2 separate regions of the Homo sapiens genome follow, and region 1 is linked to region 2. Evidence: promoter capture Hi-C in human tissues and cell types (Jung and others, 2019). All regions are on one chromosome and are shown on one strand. The core of a region is centred on a gene start or on the middle of the fragment in contact, and the rest is flanking DNA. Distances in the headings are between cores, read along the strand shown. Region 1 has its middle 7.4 kb from the start of CSNK1G2. Region 2 holds the start of OAZ1 (ornithine decarboxylase antizyme 1).

Region 1 (5,804 bases), core at 2,787-5,286, 330 kb before region 2:
CCCAGGCTGGAGTGCAGTGGCGTGATCTCGGCTCACTACAACCACCACCTCCTGGGTTCAAGCAATTCTCCTGCCTCAGCCTCCAGAGTAGCTGGGACTACAGGCATGTGCCACCATGCCCAGCTAACTTTTGTATTTTTAGCAGAGACAGGGTTTCTGTTTCTCCTTGCTGGTCAGGCTGGTCTCAAACTCCCAACCTCAGGTGATTCACCCGCCTCAGCCTCCCAAAGTGCTGGGATTACAGGCATGAGCCACCATGCCTGGCCCCCCAGTTGAGTCATTTCCAGTCTTCTGAGCCCCAGAAACTTGATAAGATGTCTGTTGTTTTATTTATTAATTTTATTTTTGTTTTATTTATTTATTTATTTATTTATTTATTTGAGATGGAGTCTTGCTCTTTGCCCAGGCTGGAGTGTAGTGGTGCGATCTCGGTTCACTGCAACCTCTGCTTCCCAGGTTCAAGAGATTTCCCTGCCTCAGCCGCCCAAGTAGCCAGGACTACAGGCGCCCGCCACCACACCCAGCTAATTTTTGTGTATTTTTAGTAGAGATTGGGTTTCACCATATTGGCCAAGCTGGTCTCAAACCCCTGACCTCAGGTGATCTGCCTGCCTCAGCCTCCCAAAGTGCTGGGATTACAGGCATGAGCCATGGCTCCCAGCCTCTTCTTTTTTATTAAAAAAAATAATAATTTGTTTTTGCTTAATTTATTTCACCAGTCATATCACAAAGACATGTGTTGTTTTAGGCCACTGAGTTTGGTATAATTTGTTATGCAGCAGTAGCTGACTGATACAATAGGTGTTCCTGGATTATCTTCAGAAACCTGATAATAATATGTACACTAACTAGGGCTGTATCAGGGTGCATGGCAGGGTTTTTGAAGGCATTTTAAAGAGGTTTAGTTCCTGTCCTCAGGAGCTGCTGCCTAGTGGGGCAGACAGACCATGAATATCCATCATGGAAGGCAGAACACATAAGTACATGGACGAAAGCAGTTCCAGAGGCTGGTGGGTTGGATTCATTTGGCCTGATGTATCATGGAGTCCTCCCAAAAGAGGTGATCATCTGCCTGAGCTTTGCCAGACCTGTTGGGCTGAGAGAAGCCAGACAAGGCTCAGATGGGTGGAGGGTCAGGGTGGGTTGGAAAGGAACAAGTCAGTATGGGTGCAGAGGGCGTCCTGATGGATAGATGGGGCTGCGAAGTGGAACCAGCCATTGAGGCAGCCTCGAATGCTGTCCCCATTGTGGGGACTTTGAAAAGCCACCCTCCTTTGAAACACAGAAGGGGCAAGGAGTAAATTTATATTTCTTTTTTTCTTTTTTTTTGTTTTGAGACGGAGTCTCACTCTGTCACCCAGGCTGGAGTGCAGCGGCACCATCTTGGCTCACTGCAAGCTCTGCCTCCTGGGTTCACGCCATTCTCCTGCCTCAGCCTCCCAAGTACCTGAGACTACTGGCGCCCGCCACCATGCCTGGCTAATTTTTTGTATTTTTAGTAGAGACGGGGTTTCACCATGTTAGCCAGGATGGCCTCGATCTCCTGACCTCGTGATCTGCCTGCCTCAGCCTCCCAAAGTGCTGAGATTACAGGCATGAGCCACCGCGCCCGGCCAATTTATATTTCTGGTAAGGGGTGGGAAGAAGGAGCTTTCTCAGGCTGGAGGGGAGAGAAGACAGATGAGCACAGACACTCCTGGCAGCGGCATGAGGGCCGGGGAGCAGGTGCAGGGCACAGCGGGGCTCTGCAGGGCGGTTGTAGTTGGTGAGGACCACTGGAGCAGGGCCTTGAAGGGCGTCACCCCTCACCTGGCTGCCTCTGGGCCATCCTCCAGTCTGCCAGGGACTAGCAGAGGGGAGAAAGTGGGAGAGGAATCATTATTTGATGACCTCATTCAGCCCTAGGGATTTGGGGTGGCTAAGGTAGAATGGCAGTGGATTATATCTGACATGATGCGGGGTGTCCGGGCTCAGCTGGGCAGTTCTGCTCCCTGTGGTGATGGGGGGTAATCAGCAATCATTTAGTGGCTTTCCCTGGCCGGGAATGTTTGAGGTAGCTCACTCACAGGGCTGGCAGGTGGTGCCTGCTCAGTGGTGCCATCACCCAGGGGCTTCCAGGTGGCTGCCTCACAAGATGGCAGCTGGGTTCCAAGCAGAAAGGACGCTGTTGAGTTCTTTTTTTTTTTTTTTTTTTTTTGAGACACAGTCTCACTCTGTCACCCAGGCTGGAGTGTAATGGCGCAGTCTCGGCTCACTGCAACCTCCACCTCCCAGGTTCAAGTGATTCTACTGCCTCAGCTTCCCGAGTAGCTGGGATTACAGGTGCCCACCACCACGCCCAGCTAATTTTGTATTTTTAGTAGAGACAGGGTTTCACCGTGCTGGCTAGGCTGGTCTCAAACTCCTGACCTCGGGTGATCTGCCCGCCTCGGCCTCCCCAAGTGCTGGGATGACAGGTGTAAGCACCATGCCCAGCCTACTGTCGAGCTCGTAAGACCCTCCCTCAGAAGTCTCAAGGCACCACTTCCCCTGCCTTCTGTTGCTAAAACAGGTCACAGGAGCAGCTACATTCAGGGGAGGGGAAATGAACTGTGTCTTTCCGTGGGAGGAGCAGCAAAGAATCTGTGACCATCACACCCAGCTTTTGAACCACTTCTTCTTTGTGTCTCAGTGTTTGTGGCATGCAGCATCCCTGTTGCCTGGGTCCAGGATGCCACCCTCCTACTGGGGTTGCAGCACCAAGGGGCTGGGCATTCCATCGAGCTGAGGGGTGGGGGCTCTGGATGGGAGGCTCCCTGGGGGGAGCTCACATCTTCCATGAAGCATCATGGTCATTGTTGCCCTGTCCTGCACCCTGTCCACTGCAGGCTGCCCTCTGTGGCTGGCCTTGGTGACAAGAGATGTGGGAGAGACCCTGGTCACCACCATGGGAGGAGTCCCCAGGCACCAGGGGCAAATGAACAGAGTGAATGCCAGGAGGACCATTTAGGTGCAATATGACCAAAAATAAGTTAAGTCCAAGTGGGCTGCATCATCAACAAGAACATCCCCCAGCCTCCATGAAACAGCCCAAAACCTGGAGCAAGACGGTTCCCTGACGCTGAGCGATGCCATTCACAGCAGCGTTCCTGAATACCCCCCATGCAGGCACTCACATGCTCACACACACAATACACAAACCAACACACACCACACACAGGCATGCCAAACACAGGCACACAAATGCACACCCCCCCATAGACCCACCGACGAACACACACACACACACCCAGATGCACAGGTGCGCACACACACCCACGCACACAAAGACCCAGAGACAGACATGTGCACACACATACATATGCACACATGTACGCAGATACATATGACACAAATGCATGAACACATGGACCACACATACCAACATGCCACCTCACACAGACACACCTAACACACACACACCCGTGCACACATGTACATGGACATACACACTGGAAAACAACAAACACATATACAAAATGCAGGCCGGTTGCGGTGGCTCATGCCTGTAATCCCAACACTTTGGGAGGCCGAGGCAGGGGGATCACTTGAGCCTGGGAAGTGAGGGCTGCAGTGAGCTATGATTGAATCTCTGCACTCCAGCCTGGGTGACAGAGGGAGACCCTGTCTCAGAAAAACAAAACACGAAACACAAAATATGACCGGGCGCAGTGGCTCGCGCTTGTAATCCCAGCACTTTGCAAGGCCGAGGTGGGTGGATCACAAGGTCAGGAGATCTAGACCATCCTGGCTAACACGGTGAAACCCCGTTTCTACTAAAAATACCAAAAATTAGCTGGGCGTGGTGGTGGGCGCCGGTAGTCCCAGGTACTCGGGAGGCTGAGGCAGGAAAATGGTGGGAACCCGGGAGGTGGAGCTTGCGCCACTGCACTCCAGCCTGGGCGACAGAGCGAGACTCCGTCTCAAAAAAAAAAAAAAACCCAAAATACAAATGCATGGACATGTATCCACACACACCAACATGTTACATCATAGACAGACACACAAAACACACAAACATACACCCATCCATGGACATACACACAGACACACACAAACATCAACACACAGCATCCCACACAGACACACAAACACACAGCCATGTACCCTCAAAGGACGCTGCAGGATGAGCCTTCATTCTCTGGGACAGCAGAGAAAGTAGACAAAGGAGAGAAACTTCTCTCAGAGTCACCCATCCTCTGACTGGATCCCGTGCCCCTGTGAAGAGGCAGATCCCAGTGCCCCACACTTGGCTCTGGGGCCACCCACTGCCGCCAGGCTCTGTCCCTGCGGTTGGTGGGGGTGAGGGCAGACCCTGCTCTGTGCTGCTTCCTCACCCACCAAAACTTCCTGACGTCGCCCTGTTCCGTTGGCTGCGCTGCATATGGGAATGCAGTGCTGGGCAGGCCCAGCCTCCCAGCTGGGAAGGGGTGTCGCCACTGGCTGCAAAGACAGGTCTTCTTTTCCCCCAAGTCTGTGTTTATGCCCTACTAGAGACTGTTGGGTGTAATTCCCAGAAAGTTCTGGAATGATCTAAAATGAGGAAATAGAAAAAAGTTGTAGAATCGGGCCAGGCGCAGTGGCTCATGCCTGTAAACCCAGCACTTTGGGAGGCTGAGGCAGGTGGATCACCTGAGGTCATGAGTTGGAGACCAACCTGGCCAACATGGCAACATGGGCAGACATCACCAATTAATCATCGAATGATGTTTCTCCTGACCTCCTTCCTCCTGTGTACAGGGTAGGCATCACCAATCAAGCAATGATGTTGGTTGACTGGGGAACGCTGCTGTTTGTCCTGCCTTCCTTCCTCTTGTGCACAGGGCAGACATCACCAATCAACCAATGATGCCCACACTGCTTCCCTCCCATGCACAAAGCAGACATCACCAATCAATCGAGCAGCACCAGGAGGAAACCAATTTGGCAGTTCAATCCGTCTTCAACTCTATCCTTTTATAGATAAGGTTGAGGCCCAGGGACCTGGTCAAGGGCAACTACAGGGCAGATCCCTCCTCCTCTTCCTGGGAATTAGCTTTGTCTCTTGTTCCTGGAGCAAATTCAGGAAAATTGCAAGGTCATGTACATTTTCAGCCCAGGGCATGAGTCACTTGATCCCTGCTGTCCAGAGCTGGACCCGGAGATGATGGCCAGGACTGTCCCCTTGCAGGGAGGCCACTGAGGCTGGCAGGGCCAAGACTGGGCAGTGAGCCACTCCAGGCGGGAAAGCCCTTTGTCACTGGAGCTGCTCTGAACGCTGCCGCCAAGTCGCAGGCAGCTGTTGTCATCTGCTCAGCGTCCTTCCCCTTCCCCGGCAACTACTCCTCCTGCTGTGGGGAACCTGGCCCACCCGACTCCTGTGTTCTCAGGGCGCTGCCCCTCGTGGAACCTGCCCTTCTGGTCACCAGGACATTGCCTAAACCAGGCCTGGCCAGTCATCTGGGAGGGGCCAATGCCAGACAATAAGAGACTTTCCTGGGATTTTATAGCGATCCTGGGAGAGAAGAGCTCTGTTTTATTTGGGGGTTGCTAAACTAAGCCACAGCTGCCACCACGGACGGAAGAAGCTTGGAGTGAAAGAATGAAGCCAAGGCACAGAGACGGAGAGACAAGGAGAGGGAGAGAGAGAGGGAAAGGTAGAGACAGAGAGAGATGTGGGGAGGGAGAGAGAGACAGAGAGATAGAGAGGTAGAGATAGAGACAGAGGGATATAGAGAGGGAGAGAGAGACGGAGACAGAGGATGAAAGAGACGAGACACAGTTGGAGATAGAGGGAGAGATGCAGA
Region 2 (5,404 bases), core at 1,993-4,492:
TGAACCCTGTAGGTGGAGGTTGCAGTGAGCCAAGGTTACGCCACTGCACTCCAGCCTGGGCTACAGGTGAGACTCTGTCTCAAAAAAAAAAAAAAAAAATCAGTCCATCAATCAATCAATCAGAGTCATACTCTCTGCGTCCTCTGCCAGCAGCCGTATCCCCTCAACCTTGATTTCAGAAGAAAACCCAGGCATGGGCCCTCTATCCTTGACCACCCCACATCCTCTGCTGTCCCTTTCAGACAGTTCAAGCCTCACCACCTCCAGAGAAAGATATGCCTCTTTCTCTCCCTGCTGTCCGGGAGGCCCCTCACCAGTCACAGACTCCCCAGCTCCCAGCAAAGCACCTCCCACCCTGGGGAGTTTCTGGGGAACCCGGCCAGGTGGGCCAGCAGGGCGCAGTTGCTGATCCTAGCGCTCATCCCACGTGGCCTGGCCAGTGTGGGGGTGGCCCTTCTAGAAGCCTCACAGCATTGGCAGGCGGCCATCAGAGGCAGGCAGGAGGAGGAAGTGAGAGCTGCTGCAGTCAGGATGGAGGGATGGGGCTCCCTGGTCGTGGCTGTTCTGGAAATCGCACCGGTGACCTGTTCATTTCGAGCAGGCTCTTGCCTCTGTTCCCAGAGGAGGTCCTCAACTTAGGGGCGTCATTCTGCCCCCAAGGGACATTGGATGATGTTTGGGACATTTCTGGTTGTCATGACTTGGAGTGCTCCTGGCATGGAGTGGGTGGAGGCCAGGGACGCTGCTCAGTACCCTGCAGTGCCCAGGACGCTGCAGTCCAGCCTGGCAACAGAGCGAGACTCCGTCTCAAAAAACAAAAAAACAAAAAAAAAAGCAATCCACACCCTGAGTGGGGAAGGAGAGAGGAGAAGCATCCCAGGAGCTGGGGCCCTCCTGGTTCATACCATTTGCCCAGGATGCCCCACCCCAGAGAACAATCCAAGCCCAATGTCCACGGGTCCGAGGGAGGAGACCCTGAGTTAATTATTTGAAACAGAGTCTGTTCTCTGCTCACACCAGACACCAGAATAAACTCCTTTTTTTTGAGATGGAGTCTCGCTCTGTAGCCCAGGCTGGAGTGTAGTGGTGCAATCTTGGCTCACTGCAACCTCCACCTCCCGGGTGCCAGTTCAAGCAATTCTCCTGCCTCAGCCCCCTGAGTAGCTGGGATTACAGGCACGCGCCACCATGCCCAGCTAATTTTTGTATTTTTAGTAGAGACGGGGTTTCACCATGTTGGCCAGACTGGTCTTGCACTCCTGACCTCGTGATCCACCCGCCTCGGCCTCCCAAAGTGCTGGGATTACAGGCGTGAGCCACCGTGCCCAGCCTCAGGATAAACTCCTAATGGGGCAAACGGTATAAACCAGGAGGCCCCCAGCTCCTGGGATGCTTCTCCTCTCTCCTTCCCCACTCAGGGTGTGGATTGCTTTTTTTTTGTTTTTTTTGTGACAGAGTCTCGCTCTGTCACCAGGCTGGAGTGCAGCGGCGCCATCTCAGCTCACTGCAACCTCTGCCTCAAGGTGTGGATTTCAACGTGCGCAGTCTCCTGGGACCTCAGCAGGGCAGAGGATCATGGGATGCAGAGTCTCTTGGGGGGGTCCGTGGAATCCCCTAACTCGGGAGTCTCACCCAGGGTGATTCTGCCCCCGCCAAGGGACACTGGGTGATGTCTGCGGATACTTGTGGTTGTCACAACTGGGGGTGCTCAAGGCATGGAGTGGGTGGAGGCCAGGGACGCTGCTCAGCGCCCTGCAGTGCCCAGGGCGGCCCCAAATGTCAACCGCAGGAGTTAATTTCTGCCTCAACACCTGAATAGCGAATGCTCGTAGCAGAGATGCAACAACAGCCTTCTGGTGCAGTACGAAATCTCGAAAGACAGGCAGGCGCGGTGGCTCACGCCTGTTAATCCCCAAACTTTGGGAGGTCGAGGCAGGCGGATCACCTGAGGTCAGGAGTTCCAGACCAGCCTTGCCAACATGGTGAAACCCCATCTCTACTAAAAATACAAAAATTAGCCGGGCGTGGTGGCGGGCACCTGTAATCCCAGCTCCTCAGGAGGCTGAAGCAGGAGAATCGCTTGAACCTGGGAGGCGGAGGTTGCAGCGAGCCGAGATTGCGCCACTGCACTCCAGCCTGGGTGACAGCCAGGCCCGGTCGCAAACAAAACAAAATTAAAACCATGAAAGGAATCAGGATTTGCCAGGAGTAGCATTTTTGCTTGGTAAGAACAAAATTTTGTTTATACATGAAATAAAAAATATTTTATTAAACCTCACTGCAAAGTGGCAACTTTTTGCTAAATTCATAATTTAGTCTACACACAAGCTATGTACCCGTATGTGACTGCCAAGAGTTATATCTTTGCTTATTAAAAGCAAAGTGCAGTTCATACCTGAGATTTTTTTTCTGGATTTAACCAGGAGGGGAAATATTTTTGCTAGGTAAGTCCACATTTTACCTCACAGGCGAAACAGTTTACCGAACTTGACCACCAAAGAAATCGTTTTTTCCTTGGGAGATCCACATTTTAGTTCATACATGAGATGTGTTTCTGAATTTTAACTGCCAGGAGTAGTGTTTTTCCTTAGGGTAAGTTTCAGTTTCCACAGGAAAAATCTGAATTTATCTGCAAGGAGTAAAATTTTTGCTTAAGTCCAAATTGTACACGAAATATTTTACTAAATTTGAATATCTTTAACATTGGAAGTTCTTTTTTTTTAAACACTGGAAGCATTTTAAGAACTGCAAGACCAAATTTAAAAAAATAAAACCAGTAATATCATCGATGATTACCAGGTGTTACTGGAAATAATTCTGGCGCGGTTGGACAACCCCCCAAGCACCCGGGGGCCTACCCAGGGGAGGGGTCCCGCTGCGTGAAGGGACCCTAGGGAGGGCGACGTGGACCACGACAGACAAACGGGCACTCGAAGACCCCCGAAAATCGGCCCCAGCGAGCCGCCCCCGCCCCCAAGGCACGATTGTGGGGGCGGGGACGGCTCGGGGCGCGCGCAGCGCGTACCCGGCGCCACGGCAGCCCCGCCCCCAGAAGGACGCGCGCAGGAGGGGGCGTGGCCCGAGGCTCACCAACCAATCTCCAGAGAGCCTCTTCCTTTCCCTTTCCCTTTCACCAATCAGGCGCTGGGAGGGGCGGGCGCGACTTTTTTTCCCGGCGGCCCCGCGGCTCTGCCCCTCGTGCGGTCGCGTTCCCGGCGGCGCGGGGGGCGTGGCCTGGGCGCAGCATCTATAAAGGCGGGCGGCGGCAGAGGCGCCATTTTGCGAACGGCGAGCAGCGGCGGCGGCGCGGAGAGACGCAGCGGAGGTTTTCCTGGTTTCGGACCCCAGCGGCCGGATGGTGAAATCCTCCCTGCAGCGGATCCTCAATAGCCACTGCTTCGCCAGAGAGAAGGAAGGGGATAAACCCAGCGCCACCATCCACGCCAGCCGCACCATGCCGCTCCTAAGCCTGCACAGCCGCGGCGGCAGCAGCAGTGAGAGGTAAGTGCCCCGCCCCCGTCCGAAGCTTCCAGAAGCGCCGGCCGCGCAGGCCTGCGGGGGGCCGTCCTCGGGGCGCCAGATAGGTCCCCGGCGCGCGAGATCCGCCCCTTTGTCAAGGCCAGAATCGCGCCGGGGACGAGGTAGGCGCAGGGCGGGCCTGGAGGTCCCCCCCGGCCTTAGCAGTGCTCTCGGGGGAGTCGGGTTTGGGGGGCAAGGGTGCGGAGTTGGATTTGGGGGGCACCGTCCGGGGCGCCTGATTTGCGGGAGGGGCATGGGTCGGAGGTCGGATTTGGGCGCAGGACGGGGAGTCGGGGGAGGCGTGTGTCTTTTGCGGGGTTCGCGGGATGGGACTCGGCTTCGGAGGAGGGGAGAGGCTTCTGGTCGAGGGTTGGATTTGCGGGGCGCAGACTGGGAATTCGGTTTGGAGGAAGGGTGTGCGGTCGGGTCGGATTTGGGAGGCGCAGGATGGGGCAATCTGGTTGGGGGCGGGGTCGGCCTTGGGGGGCTGGTCCGCGGACAGGCAGGGCCCGCGGGGCTGGTGAATCTGCACTTTTCGGTCCCGGCCGTCGAGCGTGCGCTGCGGGAGCGGGGAGCGCTTTGCGGTGGACGAGCTCCCGCGGGTCCCTGTTGCCTCGATGTGGCCCCTGCACGCGACGGACCTCGTGGGCCCCGTTTTTCGCCCCTGAGCGAGTCGGTCTGGATGGCCCGGGACGCGCCGGGCGAGGCCGCGCACGTAGACGGCACCCAGGGCTTCTCCGCGGGGGCCGCCGGGGAGCTGGGGGTGGCGCACTCCGACAGCCCGGCAGCGCCCTGGGAAGACCCCCGCCGCTTCCCGGGAAGACGCGTCCCGCTTCCGGGGGCGCGGGTGCCAGCTGCGGTTGTGGGGGAGCCCGCGGGGTCTCGGTCGAGCTTTCCCGACTGCGTCCCCCGAGGTGGGCGTCGCTCAGCCCCGGATCGGGAGGTTGGGCCGCGGTGCTGGCGGTGCCGCGGTTTGGGGGCCGTGCAAAATGGAGGCAACTTTGGGGCCTGTTTACCCTGCGCAGCAAATGGCTGCTGGCGCTGCCGGCTGCGCGATTGTGAAAATCTCCCCCGGGGCGCGAGGCCGCGTCTGCCTGGATGACGCAACCGGGAGGGCCCGGGCCTGGAGCGGGGGCGGGGGGGCGGGCGGCCGGGAGCCGGAGCGGGGCGCGTCCTCCATGAGGTCAGGCTAGGCCCGCCCGGTCTTCGCGGGGACAAGCAAGAGTCCCAGATTTTGGCCGTAGTGCAGGGTGGAAAGGGGAAGCCGCGACAGAACTGAAAAGGGGAAGCGCTGGCTGTCTTGGTGGCCGGGGGGTGAGGCTCTGCCCCGGCGGGGCTGCGTGAGGGGAAGGGGCCCCCCGCCCTGGGAAGGTTGGGCTGTCCTGGGCGGCGCCGCCCGAGGAGTCGGGGCTCAGTGACTGCTGCCCTTGTAGGTGCTTGGGGCAGGCGTTGGAGCTGCCTTCGGGAAGCCTCGGGGGTGTGGGACCGGGTGGGCCCCTGCCTGGGCGGGGCGGGGTCTTTTGGCCGAGGCAGGGGTGGGGATGTGCTGAAGGCCGCCCGGACGCCCTGGAGGGGTCTCCGCCCGGAGCCTGGCGCTGCCTCGTGACCTGCATCATCTTCAGTTCCAGGGTCTCCCTCCACTGCTGTAGTAACCCGGGTCCGGGGCCTCGGTGGTGCTCCTGATGCCCCTCACCCACCCCTGAAGATCCCAGGTGGGCGAGGGAATAGTCAGAGGGATCACAATCTTTCAGCTAACTTATTCTACTCCGTGAGTATGGGGCCGGGCCTGCTGGGGCTGCTCTGGGGCCACAGGTACTTTCTTGTGCACCTTGCTGCCCGTACCTGTGATTGAATGTAATCGTGGGAACCCTGAGTTTCATCAGAG

The links. The method cuts DNA at HindIII sites, captures the fragments that hold promoters and counts their contacts. A contact is called where the count stands out against the background at its distance.
Region 1: a fragment that was not itself captured here is called in contact with the fragment with the promoter of OAZ1 in region 2 in 1 of the 25 tissues and cell types used here (stomach).

Annotation. Positions count from the first base shown.
Region 1 is chr19:1,930,843-1,936,646 of GRCh38, forward strand. No RefSeq gene overlaps it. Among named protein-coding and RNA genes, the nearest start is that of CSNK1G2, 7.4 kb to the right of the region's middle. The HindIII fragment of the contact is 4,225 bases long and covers 1,925-5,804 here.
Region 2 is chr19:2,266,244-2,271,647 of GRCh38, forward strand. It overlaps OAZ1 (ornithine decarboxylase antizyme 1), which reads left to right and starts at 3,243. Exons shown (of 5, transcript NM_004152.3): 1 at 3,243-3,501; 2 at 5,142-5,287. The coding sequence starts at 3,356. It overlaps LOC105372240 (a long non-coding RNA gene), which reads right to left and starts at 3,010. Exons shown (of 2, transcript XR_936242.3): 1 at 2,859-3,010; 2 at 2,250-2,629. RefSeq lists enhancers at 277-446, 2,942-3,556 and silencers at 2,810-3,299, 4,265-4,324, 4,535-4,734, 4,745-5,084. The HindIII fragment of the contact is 6,913 bases long and covers 1-4,495 here.